Linked DNA regions of Homo sapiens: region 1 is linked to region 2. Evidence: promoter capture Hi-C in 16 types of primary human blood cells and fetal thymus (Javierre and others, 2016). All regions are on one chromosome and are shown on one strand. The core of a region is centred on a gene start or on the middle of the fragment in contact, and the rest is flanking DNA. Distances in the headings are between cores, read along the strand shown. Region 1 holds the start of CEBPA (CCAAT enhancer binding protein alpha). Region 2 holds the start of LSM14A (LSM14A mRNA processing body assembly factor).

Evidence for each region. The method cuts DNA at HindIII sites, captures the fragments that hold promoters and counts their contacts. A CHiCAGO score of 5 or more calls a contact.
Region 1: a fragment that was not itself captured here is called in contact with the fragment with the promoter of LSM14A in region 2 in 1 of 17 cell types (M0 macrophages); the score reaches 5.2 in M0 macrophages.

Annotation. Positions count from the first base shown.
Region 1 is chr19:33,297,642-33,304,168 of GRCh38, forward strand. It overlaps CEBPA (CCAAT enhancer binding protein alpha), which reads right to left and starts at 4,893. Exons shown (of 1, transcript NM_004364.5): 1 at 2,293-4,893. The coding sequence starts at 4,773. The coding sequence ends at 3,697. CEBPA-DT (CEBPA divergent transcript) reads left to right here and starts at 5,180. Exons shown (of 1, transcript NR_026887.2): 1 at 5,180-6,527. RefSeq lists silencers at 4,724-5,293, 5,374-5,633. The HindIII fragment of the contact is 1,537 bases long and covers 1,241-2,777 here.
Region 2 is chr19:34,169,563-34,175,556 of GRCh38, forward strand. It overlaps LSM14A (LSM14A mRNA processing body assembly factor), which reads left to right and starts at 2,942. Exons shown (of 10, transcript NM_015578.4): 1 at 2,942-3,201. The coding sequence starts at 3,081. The HindIII fragment of the contact is 4,496 bases long and covers 1-3,882 here.

The DNA.
Region 1 (6,527 bases), core at 759-3,258, 870 kb before region 2:
CCAGGAGATCCAGGAGATAACAGTAATATCCGTGACAGCACTAAGCCATCAGGACGCATCTGGCAGCAGAGGAGATGCCTCCCTCCCTTCTACCCTTGCCCTTTCCTTGAAGGCCAGCTAACCCTGAACAGCGCTGTCACGGGACACAGGGCTCAGGAGTGGCGCAGCAAGGGGGGCGAGGTCCCTGCAGTCAGGTGCTACATGTCAAGGGGAGATCGATCAGGGCAAAGGAGAAGCATCCAGGCATCTTGGGACTGGGGCCAGCAGGAGGCCACCCTCCCCAGGTATTTCATCAAAGCTGCTGCCTCCATAAAGCCCTCCCTGGTGGACCCTGTTCACACTCTGAGATCCCCTTCATTGCACTTGGCAACCTTAAACCACAGCTTAGGGCCTCAAGGGTGTGAGCTCCCCAAGAGCCAGAGCAGAGTCGGCTTGTTCCCAGCCCAGTGCCCCATCTTTGGCGCAGGCCCTGGCATACAGTAGGCATCTGATAAATACTTGAGGTGTGTTCAGTGCTGGGCTCTTGGAATGGTTCTTCCTGAAGGCTGTAGTCAGGAGGGGAACTGTGAGGAACCCTGCAGGAAGCGGTGGGTGGCCAAGGGTGACTCTGTTCCCGGGAAGCCCCTACAGCTGGACACGGGGTACATGCTGGGCAGGTTCACCCCATGCCGCCCAAAAGACCTTCCTCCCCTCTACTTTGGCCCCCCCCGGGGGCCTCGCCCTCCTCATCCCTTTCCTGGGGCTGGATGTGATTGGATCCTTCTTGTCCCTAACAAAGCCCACCCTGGAACTCAGGACCAGGAGGAGGACTCGGGGTAGGAGGGATCCCTTCCGGGAGCCATCAGCTTTAAAAGAGGAAGCCCCTAGCGGGCTGGCACAGCAGAGAGGAGGGGAAGGAGTGAGGGCAGGAGGGTCGCCCCACCCCCTCCCGTCCTAGGACCTGTTCTGGGGGGAAAGGGGGAAGCCAGGGATCAGCCCCCTCAAACAAGAAAAACTGGAATTAGCACTGAACTCAGAGGGTTTGCTGGGGCTTAGCAAGCTGCGACCTGCCCCAGGCCTCGGGGCACGCGGCGGGGCTCTGCCTCCTCTGTTCCCAGGGTGGCGGGGCAGGCGCCGCCTCCTCACTGGGCTCGTGGCCTCTCCTCTGCCAAGGGCGGCCGTGGGTGAGGAGGCGGCCAGACACAGGACAGAGTGGGGGGCCGGAAGGGGTGCCAGCTAACCACGCAGGCAGGTAAAGCTAAGCTTCCAGAGTGTAAAAGGAATGTGTAATTTCTCGAAAATGCCCCAGCCCGCATTGGTACACACAGTAAGCCACTCAGTGAACATTCTCTCGGTACAGAGTTAAAAAAAAAAGAAAAGTGCAATTTATCTTTTACCCTCCGTGAGGGTAAAATCTGAAAAGCACCATCAGCCTCCTGGGCCTCTTTCTCCCGGGCCTTGTTAGTTCAGGGATAAGGGCTGCCCTCCCTTGCTTGGCTGTCACTGCTGCTAAGGGGGTGCCGGAGTGCCTGACCTTACAGGGTGCTCATTGGAGTTGGGGGCACACCAGCACTCAGTCCCCTGCTGGGTCTGGGATGAATGCAGTGGGGAGTGTGGATGCTGGGTGGGTTCTTGAACAGCCAGTGTGTGGGGCAGGACCAGACCCCTGTTGCAGGCCTGCCTCAGCCCCCTTTCTTGTGAGGGCTGGGGCTGGGCAGGTGTGGAGGGCTGGATGGAGGGGTCTCTCTCTTCAGGCTGCCTTCGGGCCTCGCAGGGGTAGGGTGTAGCCACATGGTCTAGGGAAAGAGGAGAGGGTTGGAGGGTCCTACCACTGGAGGCCTCTTCCTGCTGGCCGAGGGTCCTGCTGGAATCTGGAGCTGCGGTGTGTGTGAGTGGCCAGGGCTGCAGCTGTAGGTGATTTGCAAGGAAGTCTGCACAAAGGGCTCCTTGAGCCTAGGGCTGCTTAGCCAGGCCTACCCCTCAGGCAGAGGACTCCCTCTCCTCCTCCCCGGGGCAGATAAGAAGCCTCGCCAAGGCCTCAGCCCAGTAACCCCTTCAGCCCCCTCCCCTGACCCCAAGAGACTGCCTTCAGGCTCTGGACATACTCCATTTGGAGCCTTGTCCTCTGCTATTTATTTGTCTTGCCTGGGGGAAGTAAGTCACCCCCTTAGGGTAAGAGGGGCTCAGGATGGATGGAGAGCTCATGAAAGTCAGGATTGCCGCCAGGGAAAATGCTGTATTATTTACAAATGTGACCTGGCCCACAGACAACCTTGGAAGTAGCTTCTTTCTGGTTTTAAAAAGACACCGACATTGACTTTGATATGTTTATATTATAGATATAATACATAAAACATCTAGAGTGAGACTCTACGTTCTCCCCAAAAGAAGAGAACCAAGCCGTCCTTCCCTGCTCCCAGCCCCAGTGATGCGTTGGCGGGAGGCCACCTCCCTTCCCGACCAGGAGCCAGGGCCTCTGGGGGACAAGCCTTGTGGGCAGCCCAGGCCGGAGGGGCTGGGGAAAGCTGAGGGCAAAGGAGAACCCCCCTCACCTCATTGGTCCCCCAGGATCAAAAGTAATCCCAAAACCAAAAGGAAAGGGAGTCTCAGACCCTTCCCCCAGCTGCCGACGGAGAGTCTCATTTTGGCAAGTATCCGAGCAAAACCAAAACAAAACAAAAACCAAATAAAATGGTGGTTTAGCAGAGACGCGCACATTCACATTGCACAAGGCACTGCTGGGGCACAGAGGCCAGATACAAGTGTTGATATCGGCTGATAAAGCAAAATATTTGGAAAGCTTGTCATAACTCCGGTCCCTCTGGGATGGACTGATCGTGCTTCGTGTTCCTAGGCAATGCTGAAGGCATACAGTACAAACAAGGCTGAGGGTCCCAGTGGCCCTTCACCCCCCATGCCCGCCCCACAGCCAGATCTCTAGGTCTCCCTCTCCCACCAGGGGTATACATCCTCAGAGCTGACCCACGACCTAGCTTTCTGGTGTGACTCGGGGTGGGGGCTCCCACTGGTCACCTGGTGACCCCCATCGCAGTGAGTTCCGCCCCAAGGGGAAGCCCAGCCTATAGCAGGCTGGGGTGGGGTGTGTGCGGAGGGAGGTGGGAGAGGCGTGGAACTAGAGACCCTCCACCTTCATGTAGAACTAGGGGAACAACCTTAGGTTCCAAGCCCCAAGTCCCTATGTTTCCACCCCTTTCTAAGGACAGGCGTGGAGGAGCGGCTGGGGCTGGCGGGCTTGTCGGGATCTCAGCTCCCTGAGCCCTCCTCCTGCCACGGGCCTGCTCCCCTCCTTCTCTCATGGGGGTCTGCTGTAGCCTCGGGAAGGAGGCAGGAAACCTCCAAATAAAATGACAAGGCACGATTTGCTCCCCCTACTCAGTAGGCATTGGAGCGGTGAGTTTGCATTTCCAAGGCACAAGGTTATCCTAAATACTAGAGTTGCCGGGCTCCCAGCTCAGCCCCAAGAATTCTCCCCTCCTCGCAGGGAGAAGCCACCGCCTGGCCCCCTCATCTTAGACGCACCAAGTCCGGCGCAGAGGAAGGGAGGGGACACGCGGAGCAGGCCAGGCTTTCAGGAGGCACCGGAATCTCCTAGTCCTGGCTCGCACGGCTCGGGCAAGCCTCGAGATCCGGCGACCCCAAACCACTCCCTGGGTCCCCGCCGGAGGCTGGCCCAGGGCGGTCCCACAGCCGCGCGCCTCACGCGCAGTTGCCCATGGCCTTGACCAAGGAGCTCTCTGGCAGCTGGCGGAAGATGCCCCGCAGCGTGTCCAGTTCGCGGCTCAGCTGTTCCACCCGCTTGCGCAGGCGGTCATTGTCACTGGTCAGCTCCAGCACCTTCTGCTGCGTCTCCACGTTGCGCTGCTTGGCCTTGTCGCGGCTCTTGCGCACCGCGATGTTGTTGCGCTCGCGCCGCACCCGGTACTCGTTGCTGTTCTTGTCCACCGACTTCTTGGCCTTGCCCGCGCCGCTGCCGCCACTCGCGCGGAGGTCGGGGTGCGCGGCGCCCAGCCCCTTGAGCGCGCTGCCAGGGCCCGGCAGGCCGGCGGCACCGAGCGCGGGCGCGGGGTGCGGGCTGGGCACGGGCGTGGGCGGCGGCGTGGGGTGACCGGGCTGCAGGTGCATGGTGGTCTGGCCGCAGTGCGCGATCTGGAACTGCAGGTGCGGGGCGGCCAGGTGCGCGGGCGGCGGGTGCGGGTGCGGGTGCGAGGGCGGCGGCGGCGGCGGCGGCTGGTAAGGGAAGAGGCCGGCCAGCGCCAGCTGCTTGGCTTCATCCTCCTCGCGGGGCTCCTGCTTGATCACCAGCGGCCGCAGCGCCGGCGCCCCGACGCGCTCGTACAGGGGCTCCAGCCTGCCGTCCAGGTAGCCGGCGGCCGCGCAGCCGTAGCCGGGCGGGGGCCCGTGCGCTCCCCCGGGCATGACGGCGCCGCCGGGGCCCGCGGGCGCGCCCGGGTAGTCAAAGTCGCCGCCGCCGCCGCCGCCCGTGGGGCCCACGGCCGCCTTGGCCTTCTCCTGCTGCCGGCTGTGCTGGAACAGGTCGGCCAGGAACTCGTCGTTGAAGGCGGCCGGGTCGATGTAGGCGCTGATGTCGATGGACGTCTCGTGCTCGCAGATGCCGCCCAGCGGCTCCGGGGCGGCAGGTGGGGCGGGAGGCTGCGCGGGGCCCGCGCCCCGGGGAAAGCCGAAGGCGGCGCTGCTGGGCGCGTGCGGGGGGCTCTGCAGGTGGCTGCTCATCGGGGGCCGCGGCTCCGCCTCGTAGAAGTCGGCCGACTCCATGGGGGAGTTAGAGTTCTCCCGGCATGGCGAGCCTCGGCGGCCTCCAGCCTGCGCGGGGCGTCGCCGCCGCCCACCCGGAGACCCTGCTCGCCCGCGCCCGCGCACCTCCGGGTCGCGAATGGCCCGGCCCGCGCCGGCCCAGCTTTTATACCCGGCAGGCCGCGTCGCCCCCTAGAGTCCGAGGCGGCCTCTGTCCCCGGGCTGCGGCGGCGCGGCGCCTGCTGGGTCCTAGCGCGCGGCCGGCATGGGGCGGCGAACCAGCGCGGCACAGCGCCGCGCTCCCCAGGCAGGCCGCGGCGCAACGCCCACCGCCTCCAGCGCGCCCAGCAGAGCCGCGGCGCTCGCTCCAAGCTCCGCCCCCGGCCCGGCCGTCGCCCCCGCGCCCACGTGGTCGGTAGCGGGGGCCCCCTCCTCCTGCCTGCCCTAGGCGCCCGTATCCAGCCACGGCCGGGAGCCCAGGAGTATCCCGAGGCTGCACGGGGTAGGGGTGGGGGGCGGAGGGCGAGTCTTGGTCTTGAGCTGCTGGGGCGCGGATTCTCTTTCAAAGCCAGAACCAGGCCTGTCCCGGACCCGCGTCCCGGGGAGGCTGCAGCGCAGAGCAGCGGGGCTGGGGCCGGTGGGGGGCCGTTTGGGACGCGCGGAGAGGTCCTGAGCGCGGTGGCTCTGCGTCTCCTAGCTCTGATCTCCAGGCTACCCCTGTGATTCCGCGCAGAGGTACCTCTCGGAGGACGCCGGGGTCCCATGGGCGGCGCCGCGCAGGGCGCTAGGACCCCGCGGGGAGCGGAGGCGGCCTCGGCCCGGGAGCCTGGAGGACCTGGCCGGTCGATCCGCCCGGGCTGGAAAACTTTCTTTATAATTACTTCTCCAGGTCGGAGCGCGCGGCTTGCTAGGCGCGCGGGGCCGGCGCTGTTACCCGGCGTGGAGTCGCCGATTTTTTTTCCTGCGGGACCGCGGGGCCCCCCAGACTAGCGGAGCTGGACGCCGGGGCGAGCACGGGGAGGGGCGCACCGAGGGAGGAGACAAACTTAACTCTGGGGCCGGGATTCCGAGGCGGGGGCCGCAGCCCTCGAGGCCCGAAGCCACCGCTTCCTCCCCCGCCTCCCCATTCAGGTGGGCGCCAACGGCGGGAGCGAGGGTGTCCAGGCCGCCGGGCTGCCAGGTCCGAGCACGCACAGGGAGAACTCTGCCCAGTGGTTCGCCGGGCGCTGTAGTCCCCGGGATCCTAGGGACCGAGGCGGCCAGGCCCTGGGGCCCCTTGAGTGCGGCAGCTAATGCTCTCACCGCGGCGGGGGAAGGAGCTTGCCACCGAGACCCCCAGCCACGTGCGTCCCTCGCATTCTTTACCGGGGCCGGGGTGGCGGCTACGGACCGTCAGCTGGGCCCAGATGGAGTCTTGGGAGCCCTCAAGTGTCTCCTGTCCTTGCCCGCGCCGCCCCTCGCCACTGGCGCTGAGGCCTGACGCCGCCTGCGTCCCGGCTAGAGGCGCGCTTGCCTACAGGTGAGGGAAGACCCCCTTCACCGACAGTGGCCTTAGGCCTGGCAAGGCGCCACGACCCGCCCAGGAGCCCCGGAGGGGGCACAGCTAAAAACACCGCTGGAGAGCCCCGAGCTTCCACGACGATCGCAGTAAAGAAGCAGTTTCATCTGGGCAACGCACACTGCGCTTTAATCAAGTTCCTATTCAACATAGTCCCAGTGATTAATAGCCCAACTGCTTCGTTTTCGGTCCAGAGCTCATAAACAAGATATTTTTA
Region 2 (5,994 bases), core at 1,692-4,191:
AGCCCAGGAAGGTTGCAGTGAGCCATGATAGGGCCACTGCATTCCAGCCTGGATGACAGAGTGGCACCCTGTCTCAAAAAGATACACAAATGGCGGGGTGCGGTGGCTCACGCCTGTAATCCCACCACTTTGGGAGGCCAAGGAGGGCGGATCACCTGAGGTCGGGAGTTTGAGACCAGCCTGACCAACATGGAGAAACCCCCACTCTACTAAAAATACAAAATTAGCCGGGCTTGGTGGTGCATGCCTGTAATCCCAGCTACTAGGGAGGCTGAGGCTGGAGAATCTCTTGAACCCGGGAGGCGGAGGTTGCGGTGAGCCAAGATCACGCCACTGCACTCCAGCCTGAGCAACAAGAGCGAAACACCGTCTCAAACAAACAAACAAAAAAAGATAGACAATAATAGGTGTTGGTGAGGCTGTGGAGAAAATTGGAGCCCTCATACAATTGCCAGTGGAAATGTAAAATAGTGTAGCTGCTTTGGAAAACAGTTTGACAGTTCCTCAAAAAGTTAAACTCTGAGTTACCATATGGCTCAACTACTTCATTCTTAGGAGGATTGAAAACACATGTTCCCACAAAAACTTGTTCATAGAGGTACTCATGGATATTTATAATAGCAGAAGTGAAAACAACCCAAATGTTCATCAACTGATAAATGGATAAACAAAATATGGTATGTCCATACAAAGGGATATTATTTAGCCTTGAAAGAATTTCCGGGCACGGTGGCTCACGCCTGTAATCCCAGCACTTTGGGAGGCCAAGGCAGGTGAACACTTGAGGCCAGGAGTTCAAGACCAGCCTGGCCAACATGGTGAAACCCATCTCTACTAAAAATACAAAAAATCAGTCAGGCGTGGTGGCATGCGCCTGTAATCCCAGCTACTCGGGAGGCTGAGGCAGGAGAATCGCTTGAACAGAGGAGACAGAGGTTGCAGTGAGCCGAGATGGCACCATTGCACTCCATCCCGAGTGACAGAGTGAGACTGTCTCAAAAAAACAAAAACAAATAATTCAACTTCCTCGCATGGACCTTGTACTGAAACAGGGATTTCCAAACCTTTCTTTGTAGCCACTGTGCACCAGCCCCATCAGAGCTCTGTCTCTCTCCTGTGTCCCTCTCTTATGATGCCAGGCTTCTCGCCATTTGCTCACTCAGCTCACCGTCCTGCCTGTGCTCTGCCTTCATCCTGCTGTTCATTCATGCAGCAAATATTAACTGAGCAGCTGCCCTGAGCCACGTGCTGTTACTAGGCCCCTGATGATACGGCAGCAACCAAAACAACATCACTATCTCAAAATGTTTACATTCTAGTGAAGGAGACAGATACATACAAATAATTAAACAGACATACTTGAGAGAGATACATGCTATAAAGAAAATACAAGCTGAGTTAAGGAGATGAGTGGTATTATTTTAAACAAGGCTGTCAGGGACGTCATCTCTGGAGGTGATGCTTGAGCAGAGACTGGAATAAAGTGCTCAAGTACTGGTTGAATTAGACGCGACTGGAACAGAACGAGAAGCTAAATCATGTATATCCTTAGACACCAAAGTCTGGTTTTCTCTCTGTGTAACATGGGATCAGTAGAGTGAGTAGAGGAAGGACATGATCTGAGTTAGATTTTTTTTTTTTTTTTTGAGACGGAGTCTCGCTCTGTCGCCCAGGCTGGAGTGCAGTGGCACAATCTCGGCTCACCACAACCTCCGCCTCCTGGGTTCAAGCAATTCTCCTGCCTCAGCCTCCCAAGTAGCTGAGACTATAGGCGCGCGCCACCACGCCTGGCTAATTTTTTTATATTTTTAGTAGAGACGGGGTTTCACCATGTTGGCCAGGCTGGTCTCGAACTCCTGACCGGTGATGCGCCCGCCTCGGGCCCCCAAAGTACTGGGAGTACAGGCGTGAGCCACTGCGCCCAGCCCTGAGTTAGATTTTAAGAAGATCTCTCTGGCTGCTGTATTGAGAATAAAGTACTGGGGGCAAGAGTTGACACAGAGGCAACTTTTAGAAGGCTACTGCAATAATTCAGCCCGAGTAATCGTGGCTTGTGGGAGAAGTGTAGGAATGGAGATGAGAAGTCAGATTTAGGATATATTGTGTATACATAACGGAGAGGTGTAGTCAGAACAGATGTGGAAGCAAGACAGGGCAAGGCTGACTCACGGCTTTTAGTCTGAGCAGCTGAGTAAAAATGGTACCGTTTACATCAAATAGGGAACGGTGGTGAAGGAGCAGGTTAGAGGGGAAACAGGGAGCATGGCTTTGGACCCTTAACGTTTGAGATTCGACAGAAACCCTGGTTCACGGAATTGATCCAAGCTACATACTGATAATTGGGATTAGTGAGTTACAATGGCGTTGCAAGCCATGAAACTGGTTCAGACCGGCTGAATGAGCGGGACAGGAAGGGGCTGAAACACTTGAGTCCTTGTGAGAGCCCCAGCTCCAGGGGCAGCCTCGGGGGAAGCTCCCCGGGCGATGACTGCGGTAATGGAGCCGTAGGAGCTCCACGAGGTGCAGGTTCAGCGTCTTAGAAGGATGAGCAGCGGCTCGCCACAGCTCGGAGGCGGGTGGGCAGCGCTCCAGGCCGAGGGCCCCGCGTCGGCAAAGACACAGGACCCACGACAAGGCGGCCACGGCCTGAGTCAAAAGGAAGGCCGCGCGCCTCCTCTCCAGCCCGCAGCAAGCGGGTGCCACGAGGCACTCAGCCGGTCCCCGAAGTTCCTCTCACGCGGCCCCAAGACCACCACCGTAGTCCAGGCCAACAAGCGCTGCCGGGACTCCCGAGGCCACGAATGAGCCGGGAGCCACCAGTAGCCGGCCAAGTCTCGCGAGAGCGCGGCCTCGCCCTCCCAGCATGCCCCGCGCCGCCGCCGCTGCCGCCGCCGCCGCCGCCGCCGCGCCGCGGCTTGAGGGCGGGAGGCTGGGGGAGGGTAGCGGAGCCGGCGCCGCCGCCATGTTGGGTCTGAAGCGGCTGCTGTAGGCGCCGACGGAGCGAGCGGGCGTGCGGAGCGGGCGACAGTGGCGTGGGATCTGCCTCTCTGCGAGCAGCTGGGAGCGGCGGCGGCGGCGCCATGAGCGGGGGCACCCCTTACATCGGCAGCAAGATCAGCCTCATCTCCAAGGCGGAGATCCGCTACGAGGGCATCCTCTACACCATCGACACCGAAAACTCCACCGTAGCCCTTGCCAAAGGTACGCGGGACCGGGCCTCAGGGTGGGGGCCGAGCCGGGCGCCGCTCGGGGCTGCTCCCCGCTCCGGCCCGCGGCCTCCTCGTTCCCTCCCCTCCCTCCGTCGAGCTCCGGGAGGCCTCTCGCCTCCCTTCTCCGGGCCCCGGCGTCGCGGGCCGGACCGCGGCCTCCCCGCGGCTCCCTGGTTTCCGCCCCCCGGAATGTCCGCGCCTGAAGCCCGGGGAACTACGGGACTGAGTGCGCGGCGGGCGGCCCTGAAGTCCGAGAACGGGCCGGAGAACACGGAGAAACGCGTCTTCCAACTCCGAAATTCGGGGCTTCTGCCGTCTTAGCACAAAACAAAGCCGGAGTATTCAAAGAATTTTTCCGCCCAGCTTGAGTTCATCGCGGATGCGTTGACTACACAGCACCCATTTTCTCACTTTGTTCATTTCAATTCGTGGCGATCTTCCTCTGGTGAACTCTTGAGTAATGTGCTAAAACTTTGGGTTTGCTCTGCGACGCAGACATTCTCGAAATGCCATCGATGCCGTGGAGCAGATCCCATCTCCCTCGGCTCATCCTCTGTTGGTATTTACCTGTTAAACCGGAATCCTCAAAGCCTGTTGTGCAACCACCTCATTAGGGCGCGTGGTAAAAATGCTTGCTGCTGCCCCGACGCCCCTGTTTCTGGAAACGGGTTCAAGCTTGATCCAGGATCCTTCTTGACCAGGCAAGCTTGACCTTTGATCCAGGCTCAGTGGGCGTTGACTGATCCCTCTGGAGGCTCTCTGGGAAAGGGAATTCGGCCGAGAAGGAAGGTGCCCCTACCCACAGTGTTAATATTTGGCATCCCTAGAGTCTGTGTGGGTTTTGTTTCCGTTCACACGTGCAGGGCCTTTGCTCCGCCAGGAAACCAGAAAGAAAATAAACTTTAGCTCCTGAATCTTAAAGGAAATCTCACAACAGTGTAAAATACTTTGAGGGAAGCTAGATAACCTAGGTGATTTTCCCAGCACTTCTGGTAGAGGTGGGAACTGCATAGCATGGTTAGGGACCCTGTGGATAGGTTAGGTCCAAGGATAAAGAAGAAGATTTTCGAAATCTGTAAAATTTTAAAAATCGTTAACAGATAGGGGAGTGGTTTCACGGGATCAAGTATTTAATAATATTTCTTGGATGCTCTGGTAAATCCTTTATTTATTTATTTATTTATTTATTTTTCTAAGATGGAGTTTAGCTCTTTTTGCTCAGGCTGGAGTGCAAAGGCAATGATTTCGGCTCACTGCAACGTCCGCCTCCCGGGTTCAAGTGATTCTCCTGCCTCAGCCTCCCAAGTAGCTGGGATTATAGGCGCCTGCCACCACCCCTAGCTAATTTGGTATTTTTAGTAGAGACGGGGTTTCACCATGTTGGCCAGGCTGGTCTCGAACTCCTGACCTCAGGTGATCCACCCGCCTCGGCCACCCAAAGTGCTGGGATTACAGGCATGAGCCACCGCGCCCAGCCTCTGGTAAATCTTTTTAATAGCCCTGGTGTTGGGACAAATCTTATACCTGGGTAGGGAACCTTTTGATGTTACAGAACTGTACACCATAAAGGAGTAGTATGAGATGGTGATAGTTGCACAACTCTGCAAATTTGCTGAAGATCATTGAATTATACACTTTTTAAAATCACCAAGTCTAATTTTAAAAGTAGTATGAAAAACCAGGGAGTACCCCCACATTTCCCTCTTCACCTTGTGAAACATTATGCAGTGACACATTACCTCATTAAAACACCTGTAGACTTGGCGGTTAGAAATCGGCTATAGGATGTATGATGGATGGTATTTGGTGTTTATTAAAGACTTTCCCAGTGATGCTTCTTAAGTAACTTAGTTTTTGCTTGGCCTTATTTTGAATTTATTTTTATATTTTTTATACAATAGTTACTTAGCTGTATAGTGTTTTTCTGGCTTTTTGAAATTATGAAAAAGCCTCTCTTTATGAAATTATGAAAAGTGCTGGGTGAGAGCCAGATATGGGTTGAAAATAATTTCTCATTAAAGTGGTTTAATAAATTTGTTTTAAAGTATTGCTTTACCTAATCTGAATTTAAAAGTGTCTTGCCAGCTTAGTGACTCAATAAGTTGGCTGTGTTACCTTTATTCCTCACAAAGAAAAAAAATACATTTGAAAATTTTAAAGTATTTTTGTTCTTTTTTAAAAACTACGAACATATCCTTTTATGCAGGAACCCCAAAAGTCTACATTTTAACAACCCACATTTTAAAAAACTTTTCAGCAGCTTTTAGAGTCAGTATTTCATTAGTCTGTAATAGTTAAATTCATATGACATAATGACATAAAATATAAATTTGTTCTTTGTGTCATGACTTGATAAATATATGAATATAGCAGTGAAAAATTTTTTTAATCATTGAATTTATGTTTGTACTCATGGCTTTGATATTTCATCCCACATCATTATATGCTTTTTCTTTTTCTTTTTTTTTTTTCTTTTTGAGATGGCGTCTCACTCTGTTGCCCAGGCCGGAGTGCAGTGGCACAATCCTGGCTCCCTGTAACCTCTGCCTTCCAAGTTCAAGCAATTCTCCTGCCTCAGCCTCCTGAGTAGCTGGGATTACTGGCGCGTGCCACCACGCTTGGCTAATTTTTGTATTTTTTAGTTGAGACAGGCTTTCACCATATTGGCCAGGCTGGTCTTGAACTCCTGACCTCAAGTGATCCACCTGCCTCAGCCTCCCAGAATGCCGGGATTACAGGCATGAGCCACCGCACCCGGCTGCTTTTTCTTAAGCAACATGAGTTA